2 separate regions of the Homo sapiens genome follow, and region 2 is linked to region 1. Evidence: promoter capture Hi-C in 16 types of primary human blood cells and fetal thymus (Javierre and others, 2016). All regions are on one chromosome and are shown on one strand. Each heading gives the region's core, a stretch centred on a gene start or on the middle of the fragment in contact. The rest is flanking DNA. Distances are from core to core; before and after follow the strand shown.

What was found. Contacts are between HindIII fragments. The CHiCAGO score rates a contact against its expected background, and 5 or more counts as called.
Region 2: a fragment that was not itself captured here is called in contact with the fragment with the promoter of C15orf40 in region 1 in 6 of 17 cell types (activated CD4 T cells, total CD8 T cells, naive CD8 T cells and 3 more); the score reaches 11.5 in activated CD4 T cells.

The regions. Positions count from the first base shown.
Region 1 is chr15:83,010,331-83,013,018 of GRCh38, forward strand. It overlaps C15orf40 (chromosome 15 open reading frame 40), which reads right to left and starts at 1,309. Exons shown (of 4, transcript NM_144597.3): 1 at 1,167-1,309; 2 at 1-33. The coding sequence starts at 1,277. It overlaps LOC124903542 (a long non-coding RNA gene), which reads left to right and starts at 1,411. Exons shown (of 2, transcript XR_007064742.1): 1 at 1,411-2,688. RefSeq lists an enhancer at 1,487-1,546. The HindIII fragment of the contact is 2,628 bases long and covers 174-2,688 here.
Region 2 is chr15:80,993,005-80,995,692 of GRCh38, forward strand. No RefSeq gene overlaps it. Among named protein-coding and RNA genes, the nearest start is that of MIR4514, 3.1 kb to the right of the region's middle. The HindIII fragment of the contact is 7,858 bases long and covers 1-2,688 here.

The sequences.
Region 1 (2,688 bases), core at 59-2,558:
TGGTCTCTCTGGTTCCTTGCTCTGGCTTTTACCCTAAAATGACAACCACACAACTTTACAGGTTACAAAATATTTTCCCACACATTTAATTTGATTCTTCCACTACCCCCTTTCACCCTTAACAGACAAACTAGGCTCATCAGTGGTGTCCAGGGACTTCTGGCCACCTAGAAAGCTTTTCCCACAACCTTCAAGGCTCTACTCAATTTTCCCACGAAGGGTTCCCATCAACCCAACAGTGTTTTTTCCCCCCTTGCAAGAAAACCTAACTCTGGCTTCTAAACCTTAATGCTTGCTCCTCCCTCTGCTTTGTATTTCCAATTCCTTGGGGGCAGGGATCATTTATTATTCATCATTGTATCTCATGCAGTCGGAGCTAATAAATGTTGGTGAAAGTGTGTATGTCTGCATGTTGCGGGAAAGGGAGGAAAAAAAAATAGTGCTTGATATTTAAAGGCCTGTTATGGGACAGGGGCTGTGCTAGGAACTTTCGTTCAACAAATATGTAGGCAATGGATATGTAAAGATGAAAAGGTACATGGTCCTTGCTCTCAAGGAGCTCGGACTGCTGCGAGGGAGAAAGAACATACAAAATTATAATACACTGTGCTAAGTGCACCGATGAGATAGGCACAGAACATTACCCCACAGGCAAATCAGCATTGGGGCACTGGAGAATGCTGCCAGCAGGAGGCAGTGCTTGAGCTGAGTCTGAGAAACGGACTGGGGTTGGCCAAACAAAGATGGTGGAAATGGGAGTGCTGTATTCTTGACAGAAGGGGTGCGATCAGCCAAAGCAAGGGAGGAGAAAGCAGAATACAGCCTCCTGGGGAAACGCAGGTCATGCCGCTGCGGGAACATGAATTGCTGGACTGGGAGTGCGGGTAGGAGGCCAAAGGTCAGCACACGCAGCCCAAGGAGAGCTCGGCTGCCGCCGGGCCCAGCGCTCAGAAATCACCAGGTGGACGGCAGCGCAGCCTACTGAGGCGGGGCGACGGCAGCAGGCCGCAGCTCTGGGGGTGGCGGCGGCTGTCCTGAGCCCCGGAACTGAGAGACGGCAAGCCGCTGGCAGTGCCTCCACTCACTCCCGGGCCCCGCTTCTCCCGCGCTCTTCAACAAGTACCCCTGAGGCCCACCCCTCTGCCGCCACGGGACCTGCTACTGGCCTTGGTCGTCGCACCAGCCTTCTTAGGCATCTCGGCGCAAAGAAGCCGAGCGGAGCCCCGAGTATTGGGTGTTGCCCGAAGGTGCCTCAGCCCGCTGCGGAGCCGCAGCATCCCCGCCTGGGAAGGCGCCGGAAGAGCCCTCTGCGCTTGCGCAGGTAGCCGGCAGGAGCGGCCCCACCGCCCGGCGCATCCGCTCTGGCCAGAGGGCGACACCTTAAGGCCGGCGGGAGCGAGTCTCGTGGCCGCAGAACATGCGCGAGTCTCTTTTGTTCTGGAACGGGCCGAGCCCCAGGAAGTGGAGCTGCGGAGCTGAGGCCTCACCGTGTCTTGGCCCACCCTGCTCAGCTGATAGGAAGGTGTGTCACCTCTTTCCTAATCGGGGAAAGAAAGGTATTGTCACTTCTCAGAATTGGAGAGCGCGGCAAGGAGTGCACAGGGCCAGGTGTCTTCTCGCTCCCACAGCCAAGCAGCAGATGCAGAGTCCCACGCGCTGCCTGTGGCCATCAAGTCGATATAGAGCCTCGTGGCGGCTTGGCCCTTGTGAATCTTCCACGTATCGATGGCGCACCTACCTTGTGCCAGGCGCAGCGGATCCCACAATGTAAAAGAAGAGGAAATACACTGCGACATGTGATATGGAGAGACATGAAACAAATCAGCAGAGGCAAGATCATGGAGTCACTGAAGGCTTTCAAGCAAGGGATTATTAGCAGCCCAATTTGCTGGGTTTTAGAAAGACACCGGCTGCACTGTGGCCGACAGAGGAAAAGCCAGAGACAGGGAGATCCGCCCCCTAAATGGGAGAGGGTGGCCTGAACTAGAGTAACCGCAGGGAGGGTGGAGCGCTGATCATTTCAAGGATCTTCAGGAACTGAAATGATCAGAACTTGGGAATGACTGCATGTGCGAATAAGGGGGAAAAGTCAAGGAAATGCCCAGGTTTGGGGCCCAAGGAACAGGTTTGGGAGGCCGAGGTGAGGAGTTCAGCTTTGGACATAATGAGTTTGAGATGCCCACAGGACATCCAAATACAAATGTTAAAGGGGTAACTGAATATATGTGACTGGAGTTTGCGAAATCAAGGCTGGTGATAGAGATTCTGGAATCTTCTGAAAGCAGATGGCAATTGAAGCTATGGAAATGGATGAGAGAGTGTGTAAAGAGCACGAGGGCCCAGGTTAGAACAGCAAGGGCAGGTAGAGAAGTCACCAAAGGACACTGACCAGGTAGGAGTACGGTGTAACGGCAGCTAAAGAAGGGCGCTTCAAGAGGGAACATCAACAGTGATGAACACTCTGGAGAGAACATGTCACATGTAACGACTGAGAAGTGGCCACAAGATTTAGAAATCAGGGTGGTGGTGGTGACCCGGGCTACAGCAGTTTTAGTGGAGAGAAGGAAATGGAGATAATTGTAGAGAATAATCCAGTGACTTCACTGTGAAGGAGCAATTGGTATCTGGAGGGGCACATGACATTCAGAGACTTATTTTTATCATATTTGAAGATTGGTAGGAAAGAGC
Region 2 (2,688 bases), core at 125-2,624, 2.0 Mb before region 1:
ATCATTCATTGTAGTTGCTAAATATTGGTAGCAACTAACTCGTTGCCTTTTGTTGGAATTTCAGATTTTCAGTAGAGAATGTGACTGGCCCAGTCTGAGGCAGGTGTCCATTCCTGGTCACCACCATTATTTTTGGGCAGAAGAGCATACTCACAGAGTTAAACATAATAATTAAAATTGTGTTTTCCTGGCTGGGCATGGTGGCTCATGCCTATAATCCCAGCACTTTGGGAGGCTGAGGCGGGCAGATCGCCTGAGGTCAGGAGTTTGAGACCAGCCTGGCCAAGATGGTGAAACCCCGTCTCTACTAAAAATACAAAAATTAGCTGGGTGTGGTGGCATGCACCTGTAATCCCAGCTACTCGGGAGGCTGAGGCAGGAGAATTGCTTGAACCCGGGAGGCAGAGGTGGCAGTGAGCCGAGGTTGTGCCACTGCACTCTAGCCTGGGTGACAGAGTAACACTCTGTCTCCAAAAAAAAAAAACAACTTATAAATCAATAAGAAAAAGATGAACAACCAAATGAAAAACGGTCTAGGACATGAATAGGTAATTCCCAAAAGAATAAATATAAATGGCCAGTTCACATGTGGCAAAAACAAAACAAAACACAGAATCTCTCTAATATCAAAAAATGCAAATTCAAACATGTTATAATTTTTAAATTATCAGTTGATCCTGGATAAAAATACAGACAGTATACACTGTTGACAAGGCTAAGGAAAGAAGTCTTCTCACTCACTTCTCGGGGGATGGAGTTTTCTGCTTGAAAATTAGGTGAAATGTATCAACTCCCCCTCCCCACAAAAAAGTGCATAATATGATTAGCAAGTCTACTTCCAAGAACTTGACTCTGAGGAAACAGACAATGAAAATAATAGTAATGTTAATATTGAGCACTTACTATTCGACAGGCATTCTGCTGAGTGCTTTCCGTGTATTTCTTCACTTACCCAATGTAACAATCCTATAACACTCTCCATGAGTGGGGAAAATGAGAACAACTCTAAGTGTTTCAAAAATTGTAGACTATAAAATCTACATTTACAGTTGCAAGCTGTATTCCACACATATGATGGATAATATGCAATCAAATATATATATTTGTTGCTACTAAAGATATTCATTTTATACTATATGATTTTAAATGCTATTAAAATTATACAGATATATATCTATGTATAGGAAAAGAGCTGCAAATATGTATACGATGGCTGTCTCTAAGCAGTGAGATTCCAAAATATTTTAACCTTTTCTCTGTATTTTCTATTTTTCTTCACATCTAACATACGTCAGTGGTGGTGTGTTGTTTTTGTTTGTTTGTTTTTTTGAGACAGGGTCTTGCTCTGTCACCCAGACTGGAGTGCAGCGGCCAGATATTGGCTCTCTGCAACCTCCACCTCTCAGGCTCAAGGGATCCTCCCGCCTCAGCCTCCCATACCACACCTGGCTAATTTTTGCATTTTTTTTTCTTTTTTGAGACAGAGTTGCACTGTGTAGCCCAGGCTGGAGTGCAGTGGTGCGATCTCAGCTCACTGCAACCTCTGCCTCCCGGGCCCCAGTTCAAGCAATTGTCCTGCCTCAGCCTCCTGAGTAGCTGGGATTACAGGCACATGCCACCATGTCCGGCTAATTTTTGTATTTTTAGTAGAGACAGGGGTTTCACCATGTTGGCCAGGCTGGTCTTGAACTCCTAACCTCGTGATCCACCCGCCTTGGCCTCCCAAAGTGCATTTTTTTTTTTTTAAAGGATGGGTTTTCACCATGTTGCCCAAGCTGGTCTAGAACTTTTGGGCACAAGTGATCCATCCACCTCGCCCTGCCAGAGTGCTGGAATTATAGGCGGGAACTGCCGCGCCTGGCCCACTTGTGCTTTAAAAGGAGAGACACACATAAACACACTGCTGCTTACAAAATGTGAATTGATACCCTTCTTTCCACCAATATGTAAGGGTGAAAAGTCTAATTTCAATGGAAATTATCAGAATAATACATGTAATTCAAATTATCTACAATAGTGCAATGGCCTTGAAAATTTGGGGATGAGATCTGAATCTCTGAAGAAGGCAGGACTTTTATCTGTGTCATCTGAAAAAATTACATGTACTTTGCAGCACAGATATATGCAGTTATGTTCAGAAAATTCAGTCTGTTTCCAAAGAATCACCTCCCTGGACTATCTCAAACAAGCTGTAAGAAAAATGAGGTGAACACACTTGCTAAGCAAACAGGCCTCAGGCCTCCCCTTCAATCTTAAGAGTTGTGAGCTGTTAGGTCATGACCAGACCTAGACTGTACCCCTGCTGTTGTTTCATGAATATCCATGACTTTCTGTCCGTTACTGAATAAAAGTTGTGAGCAGCCAGAGTTTGGTTCAATAAAAGGGCACCTTTCTTGCACAGAGACTTAACAGATAAAATAATTCATTAACTTATTAATGCCATAAACACTGAATACATTAAATGTGGGGGAAAGATGCATAGATCAAGTCCCTGCCCTTACAGAGATGATAGGGTTGTGGAGAGAGTTACACCAACAGTTACAAGTACTTGACGCCACTCTGAAGCTGAGCAGGCATCATAGTAGCTACAAGGGGGGGAAGAAATACCTGGGTCTGTCTGAAAGATCAGGGAACCTCCTTGTGAGGCACCAATACATCTAATCACTCTGTAGTTACTGACTACTAGGC